Linked DNA regions of Homo sapiens: all the other regions are linked to region 3. The links are contacts of gene promoters, found by promoter capture Hi-C in blood cells and fetal thymus (Javierre and others, 2016). All regions are on one chromosome and are shown on one strand. Each heading gives the region's core, a stretch centred on a gene start or on the middle of the fragment in contact. The rest is flanking DNA. Distances are from core to core; before and after follow the strand shown.

Region 1 (4,249 bases), core at 1,708-4,207, 400 kb after region 3:
ACAGAGTAAGACTCCATCTCAAAAAAAAAAAAAAAAATTTTAATTACAAAACAAGATGAATCATATGTTACTTTGCACAAATAACTACTTAATCCTTAAGTAATGAGCTACCTGGTACATTAAAAATGTGATTAAAGTCATCTAATATTTAAGCACATTTATAGTGCATAAAGATTCTTCCTTACTCTTTAATAAAATGGAAGAAAATCATTTGTGGAAACTAAAATTTCTTTAGTAAGATTTCAGAATACTAGGAAAATACTATTAGTTTCACTGTACACTTTGAAATTAAATCCAAAAGAAATTTGAGGCAAAACCTCAAAACTGCTATAACCTCTGTACTTTACTAGAACTGATTTCAAGGCAAAATGTTTGCCAAGGACTTTCTGAGAGATGAATGAATGACAATGTTCTGAAAAACAGAAGAATCTCTTGAGTTTGATAGTACGATTCATAGCTTAAGGCTTTTAAAAAAATAATAGTGAAATAAAATTAGAAAAATGCTATACCTTAACAGACTGCAAGATACTAGTCCCATGCTCTGTTTCAATTTTGCAATTATCACCCTCAATACTTTGAACTTTTACACAGCCAGACCCTGATGACTTGATATCTAAACCTAGAAGTAAAAAAAGAAAAAAGCAAGTTAGTACTGCAGTTTATAAGCTCCAAAGCATTTTAACCTAGAAACCCAACTCCTCAGTTATGTCCGTAATATTGCTGAATCCTGGAAAGTGCATACTGTAAAGGTAAGGGGTCTTCTACCACAGCAACGGGACCAAAAACAATAGCCTTTCTGCCCGTTTTTAGAAACAGAGCAGTTATTTCTACTGGCCTAAATCACCTAAAGAGAACTAACATAGATGGGAAGTAAAGGAGACTACGATTCTGTTAAGTACTCCTGTGAAAGACTGTAGAAGCCTCTTCCCCAGTATATATGATCATGACTTAGGTTTTCAAATCCTATGTCTAACCTTTCATACTTAAAAAATGAAAATATTACCATGCAACTATATCACAGGTATTTGAAGTAATTTTTTAAAAATGGGAACAACTTTGAAAAAGCTAATATATACTATTAAAACTACAAGATTAGGCCATGAGCAGTGGCTCATGCCTGTAATACCAGCACTTTGGGAGGCCGAGGAAGGAGGATTGCTTGAAGCCCAGGAGTTCAAGACCAGCCTGGACAATGTAGCAAAACTCCATTTCTACAAAAAAACAAAAACATTAGCCGGGCATGGTAGCATGCACCTGTAGTCCCAGCTACTCAGGAGGTGGAGGCGAGAAGATTGCTTAAAACCGTGAAGTCAAGACTGCAGTGGGCCATGATTGTGCACCTGTACTCCAGCCTGCGTGGCAGAGTGAGTGAGATGCAGTCTCAAAAAAAACCAAAACAAACAAACAAAAAACCCCACAAGATTGTGGACAAATGGCAGTGGTATATGAAGCAAGTTTGGAAAATAAGGAATTACAAATGCCATCCTTGGCTGTCTATTTAAGATGTAACTGCAGGCATCTCTGTATACAAATTTTAAAAATTAAAAACGCTGATATTTAATTTGGAATTAACATAAATATTGATGATTTCTCTTAAAGTAGGCAAGACCCGCCCCCCCACTTGATTCCTGAAACCACAAATAGTACCAAATCCTATATATTCTATGTTTTTTCCTGTATACATATCAATGATCAAGTTTAATTTATAAACTAGGCATAGTAAGAGATGAACAATAATAACAAATACAGCAATTATAACAATATACTGTAATAAAAGTTATATTACTGTGATCTGTCAAAATATCTTAATATTTTCCTACAACAGCTGAGGCAGGTAACAAACTGAGACAGCCAAACGGTGGATAAGGGAGGACTACGGCATCTACTATTTGGGCAACTCTAAGCATTATAAAAGATGATCTTAAAAATGCTAAATGCTATTATTATTACTATCATCATCATCATCAATATCTTCCATCAGTCCCAGGAAGAATGACAGTCTGGGGAGCCCTTCCTAGAAAAGTGTGTGTACACAGTGGCTTGCCATTTAGGAAAAGCTAAGAAAGGTATCTTGCAGGCATTATTATTGAAGCTTCCTAGGCAGGCTTACCATGTGTTTTTCTTCAAAGCTTGCTACTCATGGAAAACTTAGGCCAAAAAGAATGGAAATATAACAGTAAGAAGCTGGGCGCCCGTCTAAAACCAAATACTCAAACCAGGTGATACCCGGAACATCCTATTGACAGGGCTGTTTTGGGACAGACCCCCAGGCTGTGAGCAAGATGAAATGTAGATGGACTGCCATACCATTGAATGAATTGTCAAGAAACTTCAACCTTGAAAAATAAGCCAGTTTGCTAATGACAACGGGATAAAGGAGAACACAAGCGGCTCCAGAAATAGAATTTGACCTGGATTATACCAAATCATGTTTCCATTCGATGTATAAAATTTCTATAATTGGGAACCTAATTTTTAAATACTACTCGGACACTCAAGAACAGAACAGAGGAAAAGGTGCATTTCCGAAGGGGCCAACTGTAAATTAGGTTTAGAGAGCCAGGACCAATTAAAAGTGCACGTCGACCACATTTATTAAGTTCACTGTGCGTTCCCTGGGACCCAAACCCGTTTTCACTTCACTTCACTTGCCAAACTTCAGGGGCGCGTTCACCTCCACGGACGCCTGGGGGTGGATAGTATCAGACACAATGGCCATCTCCTCCAGATCCTCGTCGTACTTCACCTGCAGGCCGTCCAGGCCCCGCACGCCGCCCTCCACGCCGCACACCGCGACCAGCACGCGGTCGCCATCCGGGTAGGTGAGGGGGTCCAGGGGCCTCACGGCCAGGTGGCACGGGAGCCGCGCCCGCAGCCGACCAAACGGGCTCACCTGCAGTGTCCACTCCTTCAGAGTTCGGCGCCCCGGGCCAGGCGGAGGGACCTCAGTCTCCGATCCGGGCCAGCGCTCGCTCCCACCTGAGCTGTACGGCCTGGCTTGGCAAGCCCAGCAAGCCCAGCGCCCAGCGCCAGCCCACAGTCGGACCTGACGGAGACAGAGACGGAAGCAGCCAAGCTCCCAACCTGAGCAGGGGGCAAGCATGGCGCGCCTCTCTCGCCAGTCCTCAGAACACTTCAGCCACAGGGAGGGTCACTTGCCACGGCCAATCGACTTGGCCACTGTGCCGCCTCAAGTCAAATAGGAGACGTAAGTCAGGGTTTGCTGAAACAAGAGCGAGCCGGTTGGCTTGACTAGGCGTTCTAAACATCAGCCGCGCAATCCCCAGGGGCAAGTTGGGATTTGAAAGCTCTAAACTCTGACCTGGACCCCTTGCCTAAGTCCACCCCCTTTCGCTAAGGCCGACGGGATAGGTAGTTCTAAGTCGCAGAGCTCTGCCTCTTAGAAACCACATTTCCCAGGAGGCAATGCGCAGGGGAGCACGGGTAAGAGGGTAGGTGTTAGAATCGCTGGAAAGGCGGGCGCCCTTTGTCTCAAGACCATTGGCTATTGGAGGGGCGGTACATGGGAGTCCACTGGCCAATGGGAAGCACGGAAGGGGCAACGCGGGTAAAGCTGCGTGGTCACCTTGGATACCAAGCACGCGACTTCTTGGTTGGAGAGGGTGGAGCTTTGGAGTGAGACCCAGGACGCCAAATCCCAAAGAGAAAAATAGGAGCCTAAATAAGGATCAGGACCAAGGGAAGGGGTAAGAAACTGCGCTTTTTAAGATGACAACTAGGTGCAAACTAGGAGTAACCTCTGTGGATGTCAACATCCAAGCTTCACTAACTTAGTGAGGGCATCTCCAGGGCATGGAGAATGCCTTGGTAAGAAAGTAAAGAGCAAGATTGGTGCTTTTTGAGGGAATTGCCTCTTTGGAAGTGTATTCCCTCCTATATTCCAAATATAGGAATAGAGTACTTGCTCCGTCCTGACCCTAAGTGACCTTACTTTGGGTTTTAATTTGCTCACTTTAAAAATGTAGATAATAATACCTTCCTTGCCTTGCCTCAAAGGGTTTTTGTAAGGATCAAGTAAGAAAATGGATGGGACCGTGGTGCACAGTCTACAAAATTACCGTGTAAAGAACTGTATTTTTATTTCAACGTACTTAACATTGATTCTGAGTTACCAAGAAAATTATGAGAGATCAGAACTTGTTTTGAGAATAGCATTGATCTCTTTGACTACAAATGATCCTCAGTTTTAGAGTGAAAAAAAAAAAAAAGACACAAAAAAGAGAGTCAC
Region 2 (4,143 bases), core at 970-3,469, 340 kb after region 3:
AAAATCTACAGTTATATGAAACAACCCTGAGAGATGAGACTTTTTTGACAAGAAATTAAGAAATTTTTCTTTAGAAAGGAAAAAGAAAGCAGAGATGGCCATATGTCAAACTAAGAGTTTGAGCCAGGGGAATAACTTTAAGGATCTGTAACGCTTTTTAAGGCTTTATAAAGAATACAGACATATATTAATATTTTCAAAGGAAATGTGGCTTTTCTGTGGTTTCCAGACATTTAACAACAAAAGAGAACTAAATGCCGCCAATTAACTCTGTACTTATCTCAACATTTGACTTAGTCAGGGGCAAATTAAATAGAAACAAGAACTATCTGAATAGAAAGAATGTCCCTGCAATGTCTCAGAAAGACATCTCTTTAATCAAATTTGCACAACGGAGGAATTCTTAAACTATGCTATGCCAAAAAAGATGCTCCCTCAATTTTATGCTAGGAAGTATGGGTTATTAATTGCATATCTACATATTAGTTTTTAATAAGCTTTAATCCGTAGGTTTTAGTATATGTGCTGCCGAAGTGAGCACATCTGTGGGTTTTTACCATTATTTGATATTATGTAACACTGATGTTGACACAGTCCAAGAGAAAACACAACTCTGTTCTGACTGCCGCAAACAAGCCTTGTCAGCAATATCAGATCAGCCTTTTAACCTTTCTATTTCCTCAATTACTTATCTCTCACGTGGAGTTAATTCTCTTTTTGTATCCCACAAGTTTCAAATAAGGATTAAAAACTTAAGATAAAGCATCGTTATTTTGAAAAGTTTTAAAAAGATTGTACAAAGTATTATTATAGGCTACCTTGTATTAGCTAAATGCTTTTAGTAATTCTCCCCCACTGAGGTTGACTTGCAAAGTTTTTGAAATAAGGTAATATTACTTAGCTGTGGAAAGGTTCCTAGGAGTGGGCACACAGGCAACAGAATCATTTGAGTGGGAAGTTTTAGACCATAGCCAAGAGACATAAGATGACATAAGAGTATGATTTTAACCTAAATTTGGAAATTTCTGGCAGCTGCATTAAAGATGTTTTCAAAAATCTGATCCCTAAGTGCTTCATGCACACAACTGGTGGAACTTATAAAAGAGGCAATTGCTTTCTAAAGGAATGACACCTGCACTGGTTAGACCCCGGTAAGAAACACACCCTGTTATGTTCTCCAGAAACCTAGCAGGTTGCTTTACATTCAGAGCTTGCTCCAAAGCTCTTTGAGTAACATCCTTTCTTAAACAAGAACAGAAGACACATTCATTCATTCTGGGGAGACAAATTTTACAGCTACATAAATGAAGAAAAGGAGTAGAAAAAGTGAGCTATGAAAGGAGACCAAGAATAGGGATACAGGTAGAGAAATCTTTTAAGTTTTCGATGCAAACTACTCAAAATATCAAAGATATTAGTTAGGTCTTTAGCCCTTACGTATTTCATATTCATAGGTCTGTGTCCAAGAGAGTAAATTATGGCAGCTTTTTCTTTTTGTCTGGGACTTAACAATGTGATCCAAATATGTACAATTCCATTAGTAGCTTTAAATATAGTTGACTGCTGTTATGCTTATGACTTTTCTGGCTGTGGTTAGCTAATTTATTTTTAGTCATGAAAATGTTTATGTAATTGCATGAGGGTGAAAAAAGATTATCAAAACTGCCTCACTGCTACACAGTTTCCTCTACTTAATAGTATAACACACCACAACCATACCAAATATACCAATGTGTGAGTATCTTTCAGACTTGTATACATTCTGATTTCATGAAGGGTGAACTAAAAGGAGACTCTGAGATATCCTACAAAGCTGACTTTTGTTTCATAAATAAGAAGTTAAAAACAGAACTCTAAAGAAATGGAAAATTAATGAAAAGGAGGCTGGGCACAGTGGTTCATGCCTATAATCACAGCACTTTGGGAGGCCAAGGCAGAAGGACAACTGGAGGCCAGGAGTTCGAGACCTGATGAACATAGTAAAACCCATCTCTATAAAAAATTTAAAAATTAGAGCATGGTGGCACCTGCCTGTAATCCCAGCAACTCAGGAGGCTGAGGCAGGAGGATGCCTGAGGCCAGGAGTTTAAGGCTTCAATGAGCTATGATCATGCCACTGCACTCCAGCCTGGGCAACAGAGTGAGACCTCGTCTGAAAAAAAGAAAAAGATCATCATAAATAATAATATTTGGAAAGGTTTATTAAAAATTAGTGTTTAAGAATGGACTTCTCCTGGCCCGGTGCAGTGGCTCACACCTGTAATCCCAGCACTTTGGGAGGCTGAGGCAGGCAGATCACATGAGGCCAGGAGTTCAAGACCAGCCTGGCCAACATGGTGAAACCCATCTCTAGTAAAAATACAAAACTTAGCTGGGCATGGTGGCGTGCACCTGTAATGCTAGCTACTGTGGTGGCTGAGGCATGGGAATCGCTTGAACCTCGGAGGCAGAGGTTGCGGTGAGCCAAGATTGTGCCACTGCACTCCAGCCTGAGTGGCAGAGCAAGACCCTGTCTCAAAAAACAAACAAAAAAAGAACTGACTTATCTTAATCATAAAAAATATAATCCAAGCGATTTAGGCCATTCTTGTTTTGCTATAAAGGAATACCTGAAGCTGGGTGATTTCTAAAGAAAAGAGGTTTAATTGACTCACGAGGTTTAATTGGTTCTGCAGGCTGTGAAAGCATCGCACGGGCCTCTCTGCTTGGCTTCTGGGGAGGCCTTAGGGAGCTTTTACTCATGGCAGAAGGCAAAGTGGGAGCAGGCACATCACATGGCAAGAGCAGGAGCAAGAGAGAGACGGGGAAGATACCCACACTTTTAAACAGTCAGATCTTGCAAGAACTCACTATCATGAGGACAGAACCAAGAAGGTGGTGGTAACAATTAATGAGAAATCTGCCCACATGATCCAATCAGGCCCCACCTCCAACACTGGGGATTACATTTCATCATGAGATTTTGGGGGACAGATATCCAAACTACATCACCAAGAGATAGGTCTGGTCTTATAGTATAGTTATAGTATTATATAACTTATTTGTTTATTTTAATTAATTTTTTTGAGACGGAGTTTCACTCTGTTGTCCAGGCTGGAGTAAAGTGGTGTGATCTCGGCTTACTGCAACCTCTGCCTCCCAGGTTCAAGCGATTCTCCTGCCTCAGGCTCCCAAATAGCTGGGATTACAGGGATGAGCCACCATACCCAGCTAATTTTCTTTTTTTTGTATTTCTTGTAGAGATGGGGTTTTACCATGTTAGCCAGGCTGGTCTCAAACTCCTGACCTCAAGTGATCCATCCACCTTGGCCTCCAAACTGCTGGGATTACAGTCATGAGCCACTGTGCCTGGCCAGTATTATATAATTTAAATGTTCCAGGAATAGAGATGTTTGAAAGAAATGGAATTCATAAAATATCTTTATACAGTATACCTTTATAAAAATCTATCTTCATACATCAGGCTATAAAATAGCTGTTTCTTTTTTCCTAATTAGCTATATCTTAAGTTACACAAAAGATATTAAGAATCAGTAGCAACTGCTTCACATATTTGTTTTTTATTTACAGCTTAAATTTACATTGATGCCATAAAAGGTACTAAGTAGAAAACCTGTCATGTGAGAGCTACATTATAAAGAATTCTAAGCTAATTGTCCCCACATGATGGATGCCTTTGTATAATCTCCTTTCCTTGAGTGGGAGTGAAAACTGAATGTGATGGGCCATCACTCCTATGAATGTTACATTATATGGCAAAACAAAGGTTATCCTGGGTGGGCCTGACCTAATCAAGTGAGCCCTTTAAAAGTATATATTCTTCCAGCTGGCTGCAGAAGAAGTCAGATATTCAAAGCATGAGAAGAACTCAGCGCATCACTGCTGGCTTGAAGATGGAGGGGCAACATGAGAAGGCATGTGGGTGGCCTCTAGAAGCTTAGAGTGATTGCTGGCTGACAGCCAGCAAGAAAATGGAGACCTCAGTCATCCAGTCACAAGGAACTGGATTTTCCCAATAATCTGAATGAAGTTGGAAGTAGATTTCTTCCCAGAGACTCCAGATGAGAACTCAGCCTGGCCAAAATCTTGATTTCTAGCCTTGTGATTCCCTGAGCGGAGAACCTAGACATAGCTGTAAATGAG
Region 3 (3,931 bases), core at 1,199-3,698:
GAGGCAGAGGTTGCAGCGAGCCAAGATCTGGCCACTGCACTTCAGCCTGGGTGACAGAACGAGACTCCGTCTCAAAAAAAAAAGAAAAAAGAAGAGGCTTTACAAGAACCCCTTCTTTTATCCCTGGAAGAGGCTGTGTGTGAAACCAATGCCCACAGTTTGAAGGGCATTAGCATTCATCTTAGGGGAGTGTGGGTTGGCTGGCTTTCAGGTAGCACTTTGACCTCACACACCCATCTACTATGTCCAACTGGTCTGTCTGCTTCCCTCAGCCTTAACCAATAAAGGACAAGGACTTAAAAAAAAAGAGTGGGAGTGAGGGGAACAAAGGGCATCTTTTTTTTTTTTTTTTTTTTGAGACAGAGTCTTGCTCTGTCTACCAGGCTGGAGTGCAGTGGTGCCATCTTTGCTCACTGCAACCTCCATCTCTGGGGTTCAAGCAGTTCTACTGCCTCAGCCTCCCTAGTAGCTGGGATTACAGGTGAGCTCCACTATGCCTAGCTAGTTTTTGTATTTTTACTTGAGACAGGGTTTCGCCATGTTGGCCAGGCTGGTCTCGAACTCCTGACCTCAGGTGATCCTCCTGCCTTGGCCTCCCAAAGTGCTGGAATTACAGGCGTGAGCCACTGCGCCCAGCTTTTTTTTTTTTTTTGGGGAAATGGGGTCTTCTCTGTTGCCCAGGCTGGAGTGTAGTGGCGTGATCACAGCTCACTGCGGCCTTGATCTCCCAGGCTCAATCGATCCTCCCACCTCAGCCTCTGGAGTAGCTGGGACCACAAGGGCGGGCCATCAAGGCTGGCTACTTTTTTTTTTTTTTAATTATTATTTGTAGAGATGAAGTCTCGCTATGTTGCCCAAGTTGGTCTCCAACTCCTGGGCTCTAAGGATTCTCCTGCCTTGCCCTCCCAAAGTGCCGGGATTACTTCTCCGTTGCTTAGTCAAGAACACTATGAAGAACTTTTGAGTAGTAACTTCAACTTACCCTTTGGGTTTGTATGTATGCTGTTACTTTTTTTTTTTTCTTCTGTTGCACAAAGGTATTATTCACCTTATGCAGTTTCAGCTCCACCCAGGTGCAAGCAGCTCTTAATCACCCTTAAGTTCAGCAGCCACTCTAAGCTAGCCTGAGGAGATAAAGTCCACACTTGACATACAGTTCTTTACATTCCTCCAATGTCACACAGGCACATTCACTTTCAAAATGCAGAATAGTTTGGTCTGCATTTTTCTGCCAGTCTTATCTGCATTTAGAACCTGTGGTGGTGGTTTCTTTTTTGCCAAGATAACCCCAGGGACAAGCTTTTTTTTTTTTTTTTGACCCTGGCACACCCCAGGACTTTTATAATCTTTTTGCCCAACAACCCATTGTTGAATTTTACTTCGACATGCCTGTACTTTACTTCTTGAAACAACTAATTTCATTCTGCAGTTTAAAAAGCAAATCCAGTAAGAAACTCAGAATCACAATCGTATGCTCTTTCATAGTTATCCTAGCGTTAAAAAAGATGCAAATTTAGATGAGAACCGTGTGTACCAGGGGGCTGTGACATCATTTTAAAAGTAAACGATCACACAGTGAACAATGCCGTGCTCCCATTAATATTCAATACGTACTGTACAACATTTCAAATTAGAGTTTAGTTTCTTCGCTACCAGGATCCTAGCGCCATAGGCTGTAAGTATTCAAATGCTTCTCGACTGTGATTGAGTTGGCTATGACAGTCCGTCAATGGGTCTGCAGGATCCCATTTAGTTTTAGCAACTGTGGCTGGTGTCCAGGAATGCGTTCATGCGATCTGAAAGTAAGCCTCTGGCTTAGGACAGCGGGGGGAACCAATTTGATCTTAGGAGGGTCCCTGCAGAGTGTTTGAGTCGCGAGGCGGGCCGGGGCAGGCCGCGTGCTCCCAGGCGCTTCCTTTACCAAGATGGCTTCGGCGCCCCGGCCCACAGGGGCGGCCATCTTGGTAAGGGCTGGAGAGGCAGCCTGAAGGAGGCCACCGCTGGCCCTGCTGTCAGATTCGAAGGTCATAATAAGGGAGTGACCCGGCGACGACTCGCCCCAACGATGGCGAGGCGGCGAGAGCTGAAGCGCTGCCTGCAGCTGCTGGCGTCCTCGGCGGAGCCAGCGCGGCGGGCTCGGGTTAGGAAGAACCCGAGCGCCTGCCGCGGTCGCCCCTCCCGCTACGCGGCGGCGCTTTGCGCGGGGACTCTGTGGCCGGAAGCCGCGGAACTGAGGCGGCGCGCGCTCCCGGCCACCCCAAGCGCGAGGTGAGTCCGCACCCCCGCGCTCGCACCCCGCCGCTCTGGCCGCGCGCCCGCGGCCCGGGATCCCGAGTGTCCGGAGCTCCGTGGTTTCTGTTGGACCTCGCGGGAGGCGGTTTTCTCCCGCCTGCTGTGCTCTGTGACCTCTCTGCTGCCTCCTCCACGGTCTCTGGGCGGAGCAATCCACACTGCTGAGCCTGGGGTGGTTTGGAATTCTTCGGCGAAGTGGAGCGGGCTGAGAGTGGGTTTCCCGTCCCCGAGCCCTCCCTCATCTCGGAGATGCCGCACTTGTGAGCGACAGGGCTTCATTTGAATTTTCGCACCTCGCGAGTTGCGGAGCCTGCATCTCTGAAGCTGCCTCGGTGAAGAGCCACAGCATTATTTTTTTTCTCTTTGGGAGAGTAGCTGTCTGGGATTTGAGATCCTATCTTCCCTGCAAATTACCAGGTTGCATCTTCACTGATAGGAATACATGTGGGTTTATCTTCTTTTGGTTGTATGTAAATGAATGGGTCGACAACTTCCTCCGAGCAACTTATTGTTGCTTCATCTATAGTGTTTATCTTCTAAAAATCCATTCCAACAGGTTTCTCCCCTTTTATTTTGGAATAAGTGTACTTATTTAACTATGGAATGGAAATGAAGAGCAAAAAAAAAAATGGGGCTAGCTGGGGAGGGGTGGTGGAAGGCTGTGCTTTCTTGAGTTTTCTGTTCTGTGGTTGTTTGCTTCTTATAAATTGGGTATTATTGTGGGCTTTTCAGAACACGTATTCAGATAGGTTTTTGTTGTTGTTGTTTTGTTTGTTTGTTTTTTCCTTTTTTTTTTTTTTCAAGCTAGAGCTCGATATGGTAGATACTCTTCCATGGGTTCCGGGATCACATGCATTCATTATACGTCAGTTAAACCTGGAAAATATTAAGGGAGTGAGTAAAGTTTAACAGCCTTTTAAAAAGTCATTTAGTTCTTGTCTTTGCCTTTACTGTACGTTGTTATATATACATGTTATAATATGACTGACTCACCTGGTTGGCTTTGGCTTAGCATGAAATGTTTGCTACTTGATAATTCTGATTAATTTGTCCAGGAAGTCATTCCTGAGATGCAGTTCTTCAAATTGAGAAATAATTCCCATGTTTGTTAAAAAATGGAAATCTCTAACATTTCCATTTCTATTTTCAGTTACATTGGTTATGAATTAGCCGCAGACATGGACATCGTTTAGAAAGAAGTTATGTAATCTTTAAAAAGAAGATTACCTATATCCCACAATAGTGTGATTTTTGTTGCAAGAAAATACTGGGTCTGTTAAAGAAGAAATTTAGGGTAAAAGTACTTATTTAAAATAATAATTTAAGGAGAGATTGAGGGGTTAAATTTGTTTCAAGTCAACTGAAAATATAGTCAGGATTTTCAGAGATTTTGTTTTGTTAACATTCTGCAGGCTTTCCTGCTACAAGAATTATGGTAAGTCTCCAAGAGATAAAAATACTTAGTGTATTTCTCATACCCTTATTTTCACTCAGAATTCCAAATTATATTGTAGAAATTCTATGTTACAAAATTCTAATTTTAAAATTAGTCCAGTTATAACTATATGAAGAACATTTTAGCATAAGCATTCCATCACAGGGTTTTGGTTATACTTTAGTTGATACAGTCATTCTTGTG
Region 4 (4,000 bases), core at 678-3,177, 320 kb after region 3:
CTACTCATTACTGACCATATGAGTCAAACTTCATTAGACCTAACTTCAAGAAAACCAAATTTTGTTAGCAGGCATTTGAATATCACTAAGCTGTTAAGCTGCTTTGTGAATATCTTTTGCTATAAACAGATGTTGGATGTAACATGGGTTTTTTAAATTATTTTTTGGGGGCATCAAGATCTAACATCTGTATTTCAGGGACTGAAATGTACATTTAATAAGCTACTATAAGTAAGACAGTTCTAGATGACTAAAGAAAAGAAAAAATTTGACCTTGGAATTTTTTGCAGGCATTCTGCAAAAGCTCACTGATCTTGGAACATTTGGATGTCTCTTATTGCTCCCAGCTGTCAGATATGATTATCAAAGCACTGGCCATTTACTGCATTAACCTCACATCTCTCAGCATTGCTGGCTGTCCAAAGGTATGTGCAGGAGTCAGGGCTCAAACACATCCAATTTAAGCACTGCCAAGGGACAAGGCAGGACAGCGATCAGGGCTGGACTCAGAATATGTTCTCTTTGCCATGGTTGAGGTATTCATTGGATTTTTTTCTTCTATCCTCAAATTGGAAATAGCTTATGATTCCACTGGTGTCAAAGTAGAATTTTCCAAAAGTTAAAAACATAATTCTCATACAAATATAAACATGTGTCAAAGATTTCTTTAATTCACTAATGAGAGAACCAACAAAATGACAAAGCCAGTGCGTAGAGCATTTGAATGAACTTAGTATTTGTAGGAACTGATGAAAGAATGTTGCATTAAGAGTGTTAGGTTAGATCTAAAAGTGTTTTACAAGTTATTAAATCCATAACCTTGGGGTTACAGTTTATACCAGATACAAATAATTTGCATCTTTCCTGGACAAAAATATAACAACATATAACTTCATTGAGCTAGGGCCTTAGTGGACAGTAAATGGTATGTCAAACAAAGGCATGATTTCCTATAGAATTCTCCAGGTAGGCCTGTTAAACAGTGTTCCAGTTTGACACTCCAAGGACATACCATCATCTTTTGTGTTATTTTCAAGTGTTTTATAATTTTTCTGGGACCTCTGTATATAAATGAAGTAAGTACTCATTATGAAAAATTTGGACTACATATAAAAGCTTAAGGGAGAAAGTAAATATCCATTGTCCTGTCACCACCTGGACATAACCATCGCTGGTATTTTATTCTTCTAGATTTTTTTCTATGCACAAAAAGATTAGAAATAGTTACAGAAAGTTTGTGTTTTGCCTTGTTTTTTAAAATAATAGAATCATACTTTCCAAAATACATTGTAACCTACTTTTTAATATACTATGGACATATCTCCATGTAAAGAACTAGAGATCTCAGGTTCTGGATTAATAATAGTAGACTGAATATACACATATAATTTTGTTCCTCTTGAAACGCTACCAGAACTAGAGATGAAGAGTGAGGGCCCATATGGATAAGGAAAACAGGAGAGGAGATAAGAGCAACAAAAATTTGGAAGCTTGAAAATAGATGGACTAATTTAGCAGACCAGAGACTGCTTTGAATCCTAAGCCAACAGTAGAGAAAGCTGGAAAAAAAAATCTGATTTACACCACAATCTTCAAGCTTGGGAGCACCGTGTACCTTTGGAACTGGGTTAAGAGTGGGGATGAAAATAAGGGAGACTGAGTTAGAGATTCTTAAGAAGTAGATAGATCTCTAGATTCCAGCCCCTACTCCATAAATCTGGGCAACTGTCTCTCCCCACCCCAAACAGAAGCCTGGAGATTTATTTCCTAAATTCTGGTTCTTCATCCCTGACACTATTCATATTTTGGACAAGATAACTCTCTGTAGTGGGGTGTGTGTGTGTGTGTGTGTGTGTGTGTGTGTGTGTGTCCCGGGCACTGTAGATGTTTAACAGCATGCCTGCCCTCTACTCACTATATGTCAGTAGCACATAAGATCCCATCCCTCCAGACCTTACCACATGTTCTCTGGTGGAGGTGAGGGCCAAAATTGTTCTTGAATTACCCACTACTCTAGAGATACTAAAACAGAGGGTTGCTAGGCTAACTAAGTGACTCAATGCTGAGTGCAGAGATATTCAAGCACTTTTTCCAACTGAGCATCAAGAACTTGGCTGCCAGATCTTCTTCTCCAGGTGGGAGATTGGTAGCCTCTTCTCTGGGAACCCTGACTAGCCCAAGATGAAAGACCTAAAATGACTGACAGGGGTGGTTCCCAACAAATAACACACGTAGATCATCCTTCATTGAAGCTTACAATAGAGATGCGTGTACTCTGACCTTCCGATTAGTTTTTAGTCCTCCACTCTTAATCGTGAACAAAAGGATTACCAGACATAAGAGGAAAGTCTCTAAAGTGGAAGATATTGATCAACACAAATTAACAGGAAAAACTTGGAGTTAGCAAAATATGAAGAAGGAAGAAAACTAAGAAATTTTTTTGAAAATCCTCAGAAATTACAAGGTTATTAACAATCGTGTTCTCTTCTATTGTACACACTGAAGGCTTTTGTTTACTACAGCATCACACCAACTCTCAAGATGCCCTACGCTTTATTTAATCTAGAAGTTCAGCTTCTATGTTGTTTGGTTTGTATGGTTAGCTAATTGTGCTGCAATAAAAAGGAGGAGGCAGCAGGGAAAAAGATGTGGTAAACCGTGACAAAACTAAGCCAAAAAGTTCACAGCAAAATTATTTTTGTTTAATAATATACTTGTTTAGAACTAGGGGAACCAGATGTCTTTCTGGTCAGCATCATCTGGTTCTATTAGTGAGCTGGGTCAAGGGACCCAGAACACTAGAAGCGCTGACCAACTGACTCTCTGCAACTTAAACAGTGATAGTTCACAGAGATTCTTGCGTTCATAGCACACAGACATATGGGCAACACATGGCTTAGTGAGAAGTGAGAACTGCCCTGGCTATAAAGCAGGCACAGATGGAGACTGGGTTTCTTAGTGGCTCTAAAGCAGAAAGTAGGAGAATGAGAAAAGAAAAGGCTCCAGTGCAAACAGAAAATAGGGCAGAGGATTTTGTTTGTTTGTTTGTTTGCTTTGGTTTTTTGTTTTTTGTTATGAAGGCTGAGGGAATTCCTTCTGTAAACTGTGCATGGCTATTGTCTTGCAGCCCAGAAGCTAAGGGGGATGTTAAACAAATATGCAAGAAATGCATCACTCTGTATCAAAGGTTTAGAGGGAGAAAGAGGAAGAAGGAAGAGTCAATTATTTTAGAACGCTGATACAAAGGAGTAGAAAGATTTAGCTTTACCATCTGAATTGTTCTGGTCAGACTGTGGGTCAGATGAGTATCCTGATTGAGAAGATGTGGGGACCATCATCTGGACCAATCTGAATACTCCTCAACTCACCCTGAATTCATAAGGCTGTGGTCCAACCTAACATATTCCACTTATGTTGATTTTGATGAGCCGTAAAACACATTGGTGTCTGGCTCATCATTCTGTGCCAGGTTTCCCAAAAGTCCACAGGTGAATTTTGAATGGTCACCTTATCTATCCCCAGAAAGGCCGGCTTTTCCTTGCAACCACCTCACCTCGAAGGTCAGTTAGTAGTACTGTGACCTCATCCTACTCGACACTAAAATGCCAAGGAAAACAAATATAGCTACAAATCAGAGGAAAAGCTGGTTGCTCTGGGGCCAGTTCAAAGCACTCAGCAGTGCACTAGGCCCTGTGGTTAACACTGTCACTTTTGACCCTCATGACCGACGTGAAGTGGGAGTTAGTAATGATTAGAAAGAAAAGGGGGTGGGAAATGAGAAAAATTAAAGCAAAGCCCTGAACAATGACAAAATGTCTCTGCAATGCACCTCTGAGAGGGATAAGGTAAGCGAAAGCAGGCCAGTGCTTTAGAACTGCATTTCTGTCCTACAAGTGTAGGTGATGTGAAGCAGGTCCACTGTGCACTGATTACCAACTTGTCTGAGTCTGGTGAGACAGGACACATTCATATGCAAAAAGCTTCATGAAGCAGATTACTT
Region 5 (4,197 bases), core at 1,478-3,977, 260 kb before region 3:
TCATAGAAATTAAAAATGTGATAGCTGGAATAAATATTTAGTCAGGGTTGGAAGATAAAGTAGAGGAAATCTCCTGGAAGTAGAAGAAAAAGACAGTAAGAGAGAAAACATAAGAACACCAGAGGATCAAGCCTGATGTCCCATCATACATCTAATAGGACTTCCAGAAAGAAAGAAGAGAGTAAACAGAAGGAAGAAATGATCAAAGAGTAATCCCCAGGAATGAAATACATGTGTTTTCAGACTGAGAGAAATCATTAAATACCCAGCAGAATAAATGAAAAATAAAACAAGGCACACCATAGTAAAATAGAATACCAGGGATAAATAGAGGATCTCAGACTAGAAAGAAAAAAAGTCACATAATGAAAAGCTGAAAGGTAAACACAATGGAAAATTAAGTTTGCATCTAAAATTGATAAACTGAGAAATCATGATACAAACATATTTAGAACGAGTTTTCTCAACCTGATGCCATTTACTCTGTTGTTGGGGGCCTGTCTTGTGCAGTGAAGGGCACTTAGCAGCACCCCTGGCCTTCACCCACTAGATGCCAGTAATACTCCCACCCGGTACCCACATCATGATAATCAAAAATGTCTCCAGACATCCCCAAATGTCTCCTGCCAGAAGTGGGGGTGGGGGAGCGCTCTCCTTTGAGAATGATGATTTAGGAAAATGGAGGTAAATAGAGAAAAACAGCTAAACGAGTTGGAAGTGATTGGCTCCGAGGAGCAAAACCTGGAGGAAGAGGGGTGAGCAGAAAAGAGCTGGCTCTTCCAGAGAGCCTTTGCTGCTTGGCTTTTTAAATCGTATGCATACATTTCTTTGCTAGAAATAAATTTTTTTAACAACATTCGAGTGACCATGTTATTATACATGAAGTTAGGATGCTTTCCCAACTCTTCTTTTGCTAAAGCTGTTTTCTCCACAGCATAACAGTGCATTAAATGAGTTTTCTAATTGTCCCAGAAATTTGGCTGAGCCCCCAAAGCTGAGAATAAAAAGGGCTTATTGCCTACACATTCTGAAGAGGGATGCCAGTCAATCTATCCCAAGCTATGAATGAATGACCCAGGCCCTCTTGAGTGTGTCACTTTAACAGAATATATGAGGGAACGAGGAGACTGATTTGGAATGAGAATTTTCCAGGGAGAGGTTAAAACCCTATCCATTTCCCCTCCACCTGTAGTCAAGTAAGAAAGGACTACAAGAAAGCTGCTCAGCGTGCTGAACAGTACCCCCTGGAGTTTGTGAAGACTGCTGCCTAATTCTTGCATGAAAAAGTCCAGCTGCTCTAAAAACTAGTTTTTAAAAAACTTTCAAGTGAACCTGCACATGGATGTTTATAGCAGCTTTATTCATAATTGCCAAACCTTGGAAGCAATCAAGATGGCCTTCAGTAGATGAATGGATAAACTGTGGTACATCCAAACAATGAAATATTCAATATTAAAAAGGAATGAGCTATCAAGCCATGAAAAGACATGAAGGAACCTTAAATGCTTATTACTTAGTGAAAGAAGTCAGCCTGGTGTAGCTTAATACTGTATGATCCCAACTGAATGACATTCTAAAAAAGGCCAAACTGGCCAGGCACAGTGACTTATGCCTGTAATCCCAGCACTTTGGGAGGCTGAGGTGGGCAGATCGCCTGAGCCTAGGAGTTCAAGACCAGCCTGGGAAACATGGGGAAACTCTGTCTCTACAAAAATTAGCCAGGTGTGATGGTACACACCTGTAGTCCCAACTACTAGGGAGGCTGAGGTGGGAGGATTGCTTGAGCCCGGGAGGTTGTGGCTGCATTGAGCCATGAACATGCCCCTGTACTCCAGCCTGGGTGACAGAGCAAGACCCTGTCTTAAAAAAAAAAAAAGGGGGGGGCAAAACTTCAAAGACAGTAAAAATATCATTAGTGTCCAGGGGATGGGGGGAGGGAAGTATGAATAGAGCACAGAGAATTTCTGAGCAGTGAAACTACTTTATATCACACTATCATGATGGCTACCTGTCATTGTACATTTGCATAGACTGTACCACACCAAGAGTAAACCTCATGTAAACTATGGACTTTGGGTGATAGTGATAGGTCAATGTAGGTTCATCACTTGTAACAGATGTGCCACTCTGGTGGGGGATGTTGATAGTGGGGGATGTTGATAGTGGGGGAGGCTGTGCATACATAAGGGCAGGGAATGTATGGAAAACCTCTGTATCTTTTGCTCAATTTGCTGTGAACCTAAACTGCTCTAAAAATTCTATTTAAAAAAAAATGTCTAAAGGATGATGTGAACTGCCTAGGACCGCAGAGTGAGGGAAAGAGTCCCCTAGAGGGTGTGACCTGCACTTCCAAAGTTTCTTGGGAGTAAAATGTCAAGCTTTCCCATTGAGTAACTGGAAGGTAATGAGACTTGGCCCATTTGATAGGTACCTGCCTAAGAAGACTGCCTACAGGATGAGCATACACCAGCCAAAAGAACGTGGAAGGCTGTACCTTCTGATAAGAGTCGGAGGAGGGATATCTAAGAGTCAGGAGGAGGGAGCATTACATAGGTTAGGGCATAGTAACTGAGAGTCCCTTATTGCAAAGGGGTCTCCAGAGAACCCACAAAAACACCCCATTGGAGAACGAGCTCGCATTTGTGAGTCAACACCAAATTACAATGACAACCACTAAGATAAGACTTTTTTCTGCTTTTATCTAATTTGTGAAAGAATAAAGCAGAAAAAAAAATCACCCACTGGCAAAAAGGAGATGACAATGCAAAGTTTCTCAGCTTGGACTCTATCAGCACCAAGGTAAGATGATGTGCAGGACTGGGGTAGGGCAGGTTGCAGCTTAAATTAAGATGGGCTTCACTCGTTCATCAGAAATAAAGAACCAAGAGAAAAACACATGTAACACCTCTGTCTTCTAATGATCCCCCATTTCTGTTTGGTTTTTAATCCCACAGGCTTAGCCTTTGCAATGCTGGCAGCTGTGCCTCCAATATTTGGCCTGTACTCTTCATTTTACCCTGTTATCATGTATTGTTTTCTTGGAACCTCCAGACACATATCCATAGGTAAAAGCTTACATTTGATATTCTATTACCTTTCCTTGTGTATTTCCAACCTTGCAATGTGCCAAAGAAATAGCATGGTCATTATTAAAAATTGTCTTAATAACAACTTTTGTTACTGCATACACAATAGGTGCTTTAAAAACCTACACTCGGCCAGGTGCGGTGGCTCATCCCTGTAATCCCAGCACTCTGGGAGGCCGAGGCGGGCAGATCGTCTGAGGTCAGTAGTTCGAGACCAGCCAGACCAACATAGTGAAACCCCATCTCTTTGTAAAAATACAAAAATTTGCCAGGCTTGGTGAGGGGTGACTGTAATCCCAGCTACTCAGGAGGCTGAGGCAGGAGAATCGCTTCAACCTGGGAGGCAGAGATTGCAGTGAGCTGAGATCACACCACTGCACTCCAACCTGGGCAACAGAACGAGACTCTGTCTCAAAAAAAAAAAAAACAAAAAAAAAACTACACTCCTCCCAAGATTTCTAGAACTTACAATTTTCTTATAATCTTGGGATAATAAAAAAGACAATTTTCTTGTGTAAAAGGGCAATTGTTGAAATCTGTGAAATGAGATAAATGCTTGATTTCATAATGTAATTTGCCAGCTTCTGGTTTTTATTTTTATACTAATGGTAGTACTTCAAGTTCCTAATCGCTATGCATGTATTTCATTTTTGTCATATTTTGGGCTCTGAATTGTACATATTTTCAGTTTATCAGGGGCATATGGATTTCATAATAGTTCTGGTGCTGCATAAGGCTACTACCTAACACACACATACTTTCCAGATATCTACTGTTTGGTAACAAATACCCCCAAAATGTAGCAGCTTTACAACAACAATCATGTTTGTATCTTCCATAGTGCCTGCAGTTCAGGACTTGGGAAGGGCTGGTCTGGGTAATTCTTCCTCTCTCCCTTTTTCCTCCCTCCCTTCCCTCTTCCCTGCCTTCCTTTCTCCATGCAGTCCCAGGAATTCTCCACTTGGCCTAGTTGGAGCTTTCTTACACATGGTGACTTAGGGCTTCAGCAGAAGGTGGAAACTGCAGCCCTTTTATTACCTAGCCTGAGAAGTCACACAACGTCACTTCTGCTGCATTCTTTTGATTACTAACAAGTCAAAGCCAAGCCAGA
Region 6 (3,803 bases), core at 270-2,769, 270 kb after region 3:
ACGGATGTCAGCAATCAGTATGTTTTGCTCCCAGTGTTCTTCCCATCTGTACGCCCACCTGTAGAGCTGTTGTGAAACTGCCTCTTAGGATTGCAATGGTGGAAACTCCTGTCCTGCTTTATTTGCTGAAATGCTTCTTAGAAGGATCTGGTGGTTCTCAATTGGAATTAGAAATGAAGATCCCAATGGAAGACAGGGAACTGATGGGCCAAACAGACATCCAGCCATTTATAAAGCAAGATCAACATGGTAGGGTTATGGCACTGACACACAGAAGAAGTTTCTGATTAGGATAGTTTGGGAAGGCTGAGGTCAAGGTCTTCTTCCAGCATCAGGTTTTCTCTGATTCAGAAGGAAAGAAGCCAAAGGGCTCATATTGGGTTTCCTATCCAGCAAATTGACCTTGTATTTAGTGAAAATTCCTCCAAAATCATGGCAGTAGTTTGACTCTTAGTCTTGGTTCTCACTCTCCTAAGTTTTGATCTTTTTCTTTTGCAGGAAATGGTATCAGGGACTACTTAACTTGATCACTTTTTAACCCAAGAGAAAAAGACCTTGAGGGCCATCTGTCTTATTAAAAATTATGAACAAAGGAACAGAAATAACATTTTAATTAATACTTCTCCCATTCCTCTCATTTATACATTTTATTACATTAAAATCTATATAATCAAATTTGGTTTTAAAATATTGACAAAATACCAGTATATAGATATTACCTTGCTATTTTAGAAATATATTGGGTATGGTAGCTATTACTTTAATACTATTCTATATGTTTATATATAGAATCACATGTAAAATTTTTCTCTCTTTCCTACAGAATTGGTGATATGGGACTAAAGCAATTTCTTGATGGTCCTGCAAGCATGAGGATAAGAGAGCTAAATTTAAGCAACTGTGTGCGGCTAAGTGATGCCTCTGTTATGAAACTATCTGAGCGGTATGATAAAACAGTCTTTTACATCATATCATTAGTATTGTATATTTGATAATAGGAGACATGAGACACCTAAAAGCAAAGATTTCATGACATTTGGGGGAACATCAGAGATGCCCAGAAGCTGGTTAAATGTTCAGTGAAACCATGTGAAAGACATTGAAGTCATAGATTGGACCAATTTTTAAATTATATTATTATATTTAAATTACATCTGAGGGAGTCGTTCCTGAAATGATGAATATCTAGATATGGGTGGCTTCCCTGTACTTTTTCAAGGAGATTTTCTCTAATCTCCCTTTTCCAGGAGATTATCTTTACTCCAGCATTTCCCAAGGGGTGTTCTGGCTGGTTTATTCTTGACTCCCCTCTTGTCAGAGGTCTTGTACAATTCCTGTAGCAAACTTGTAAGGGATAAGTAGGGTTCTTAACTTGCACTTTTAGTGGTCATTCACTATGGTACTTACATGATAGTTTTTGATATGTGACATATTTTTTCCTTATTAGAAATTGTAATACGAAACTAAATTACAGAAAGAAAGTCATATAATAATCTACTGCCCTTTCATGCAACTTTGTAATGTCAAATTACTTTCTACTTTTAGTCTTACTTTTATGTTGAGTAAAGGAAAATCTTTGCTTCAATACCATTTGTTTTCCCAAGATAGTTTTTATATGAAGAAATTGCTTACTGACAATATGATTGACAGCTAAAATTAATCCATGCTACTTTCTTTTAGCTGCCCTAATTTAAACTACTTGAGTTTACGAAATTGTGAACATTTGACTGCCCAAGGAATTGGATATATTGTAAACATCTTTTCCTTGGTATCAATAGATCTCTCTGGAACAGACATCTCTAATGAGGTAAAAAAATTCAAAACAGTACAATGACTTTTATTGTTTTCTATAATACAATTATTTGCTATTTTGTAAATAATGGAGAGAACAATAATATGTTTTATTTGTTATTCTATTATAAAAGTTAAGTTTAGGGATATTGTTTCTAGAAGGGTGATAGAAAAGTTTCTTTGAATCAACAGTCATGTTTCTCTGTTTAAAAAATAGCAAAATACAGTATTTTGGGGAAAGTCATGACAGATAAGAGTATGTCATGATAATTTGAGATTTGTTTCATTACAGAAGTTTGGTCAGTATGGAGATAATATATGTTAGATGGCTTAACTATATTTTTCTTACGGATTGCACATTTTATGAGACTACCCGAATGCCTTGAGATCTAAGTCTTTAGTTCAAGACTAAACTCTAGAAATGGCCTCAACAAATCTACAAAAGGATATGGAATTCATTTCCTGCAAGCTGCTGATTGTATTCATCAGGGTTGAGACTCAGGCCACATCCATCTTATCCCTCTGGGACTGCCCCATTTACTAATCAAAAGGAGGATAACCCTGAGAGATTTGCCATGTTTCTGAAAGAACTATGGGCTATAGTTATACAAGGAATATATGGACTTCTCTTGAAAATCATGCATTTGGAGGGATATAGGAAGACAATATCTTATATCCTATATCCTTCCTATATAGGAGGGATATAGGAAGATATAGGGAGGTAAGGATCCCTCCTCCATCTGCTTGCTAAATCCCTATTCATCCCTGAAATATCAACTGTCTATGAGGGCCTTCTCTGAGAAGCCCTACCTTGCAGGCAAGCACTGGAATTTCTCTGCTTGCATCTCCAGCCCCAGTGTATCCTTTAACATGAACCGTTTCTATTTCTCACTGCATTGCAGACATCTGTTATGTGTTTATCCTTCGTCAACATTCGGTGGGGTCTTTTAAATGAAGGACTAGATCTGTTCATTGGTCTAGGTTCTTTCCTTTCTTTATCTATGAATGAACTTGGATTCAGCCTCCTTTCTGCTAGATGACCTCCTCTTCCCTTCCATATCGTCCATGAGTGATGTGAGATTGTGGGTAGGAAGCAGTACCATGGAGTCAACTCATTATGGCAGGGTCAGTGTCTGGTCTTCTCAATGTTGTCTTCTGTCCAAGCTGGAATTCACTGAGATGTACGAGGGCCCATTTGGTGTTTAGTTTCCCGTCCAGGTGGATCCCTGATGTCTCTTCCTTGTTCCAACTCCAAGGCCCCTTCAAGTCTTCAGGTTTCCCTGTCGTGTCTGCCTTGCTCTGGGCTCCTCTGGGTCTTCCTGGGTCATGGAGATCCTGTGAGGCTGTCTTAGGTCCACAGTCCTAGACACCTGCTGGAGACATTTTCTTGCTCCCACATCATGAATGTGTTTGCCCTCAAACTCATGACTCACCCTCCCCTTGCTCTGCTACAGGGTGACTCACACAAGTCAACTAGATTCCATGTTAGGGTTGGTGCTTGTGAGACATTTCTGAGTGATTACAGGGCCAGTAGAAGGGACATTCCAGGGTTTTCCTCTACCTTTCTTTGCATCATCATCATCAGCTGCATTTCCTTAGTGTTCTACTCCCCTCTGAACCACAGGCCTGCTGTGGTTCCAGCTTCCCTGAATGAAGTCGGCCTCTGGGCTTCAATAACATCATATCTTCCCATTGTCCTTCCAGCATAGGGACAGTAGTGGCTTCCTACTGCTGCTAAGCTCTAGATTTTGTCACTGTCCCATTTGGCTTCTCAGTTTCTCTACCACCTATGTAGCCATTCCCCCATTAAAATTAAATCTCCTCAGTTTTGCATGCTCAGGGTTGTTTCTGCTTTTCCCGTTGACTCTTAACTGATACAATGACGAGCACAGGAACACTCTGTCTTATTGCTTTTATGAACCCTACTGGGAAAGGTGGAATGGGTTCCCATCTACTTAGGCCCCCAAGCCTACCCGGGGGTTCCAACTTTCTCTCTAGCTGGATAGAAAGTG

Evidence for each region. Contacts are between HindIII fragments. The CHiCAGO score rates a contact against its expected background, and 5 or more counts as called.
Region 1: a fragment that was not itself captured here is called in contact with the fragment with the promoter of NAPEPLD in region 3 in 1 of 17 cell types (fetal thymus); the score reaches 11.1 in fetal thymus.
Region 2: a fragment that was not itself captured here is called in contact with the fragment with the promoter of NAPEPLD in region 3 in 2 of 17 cell types (M2 macrophages and M0 macrophages); the score reaches 6.3 in M2 macrophages.
Region 4: a contact is called between a fragment that was not itself captured here and the fragment with the promoter of NAPEPLD in region 3, in 1 of 17 cell types (monocytes). The highest score is 5.2, in monocytes.
Region 5: a fragment that was not itself captured here is called in contact with the fragment with the promoter of NAPEPLD in region 3 in 2 of 17 cell types (M2 macrophages and M1 macrophages); the score reaches 5.4 in M2 macrophages.
Region 6: a fragment that was not itself captured here is called in contact with the fragment with the promoter of NAPEPLD in region 3 in 1 of 17 cell types (neutrophils); the score reaches 6.4 in neutrophils.

What each region holds. Positions count from the first base shown.
Region 1 is chr7:102,748,062-102,752,310 of GRCh38, reverse strand. FAM185A (family with sequence similarity 185 member A) reads right to left here and starts at 3,312. Exons shown (of 8, transcript NM_001145268.2): 1 at 2,653-3,312; 2 at 510-619. The coding sequence starts at 3,103. It also overlaps the pseudogene RASA4DP. RefSeq lists silencers at 3,323-3,492, 3,533-3,622 and an enhancer at 3,295-3,589. The HindIII fragment of the contact is 1,652 bases long and covers 2,132-3,783 here.
Region 2 is chr7:102,808,624-102,812,766 of GRCh38, reverse strand. It overlaps FBXL13 (F-box and leucine rich repeat protein 13), which reads left to right. Exons shown (of 21, transcript NM_001394494.2): 21 at 1-1,578. FAM185A (family with sequence similarity 185 member A) reads right to left here. Exons shown (of 8, transcript NM_001145268.2): 8 at 3,542-4,143. Among named protein-coding and RNA genes, the nearest start is that of FAM185A, 62 kb to the right of the region's middle. The HindIII fragment of the contact is 3,439 bases long and covers 500-3,938 here.
Region 3 is chr7:103,147,616-103,151,546 of GRCh38, reverse strand. NAPEPLD (N-acyl phosphatidylethanolamine phospholipase D) reads left to right here and starts at 2,448. Exons shown (of 5, transcript NM_001122838.3): 1 at 2,448-2,736. LOC105375434 reads right to left here. Exons shown (of 3, transcript XM_047421168.1): 2 at 983-2,529. The coding sequence ends at 1,727. The HindIII fragment of the contact is 3,849 bases long and covers 1,302-3,931 here.
Region 4 is chr7:102,829,265-102,833,264 of GRCh38, reverse strand. It overlaps FBXL13 (F-box and leucine rich repeat protein 13), which reads left to right. Exons shown (of 21, transcript NM_001394494.2): 19 at 291-425. It also overlaps a transcript of FAM185A not described here. Among named protein-coding and RNA genes, the nearest start is that of LRRC17, 82 kb to the left of the region's middle. The HindIII fragment of the contact is 655 bases long and covers 1,600-2,254 here.
Region 5 is chr7:103,411,870-103,416,066 of GRCh38, reverse strand. SLC26A5 (solute carrier family 26 member 5) reads left to right here. Exons shown (of 20, transcript NM_198999.3): 5 at 2,955-3,065. Among named protein-coding and RNA genes, the nearest start is that of SLC26A5-AS1, 31 kb to the left of the region's middle. The HindIII fragment of the contact is 694 bases long and covers 2,381-3,074 here.
Region 6 is chr7:102,875,471-102,879,273 of GRCh38, reverse strand. It overlaps FBXL13 (F-box and leucine rich repeat protein 13), which reads left to right. Exons shown (of 21, transcript NM_001394494.2): 16 at 824-943; 17 at 1,681-1,807. Among named protein-coding and RNA genes, the nearest start is that of LRRC17, 36 kb to the left of the region's middle. RefSeq lists an enhancer at 2,519-3,718. The HindIII fragment of the contact is 5,125 bases long and covers 1-3,803 here.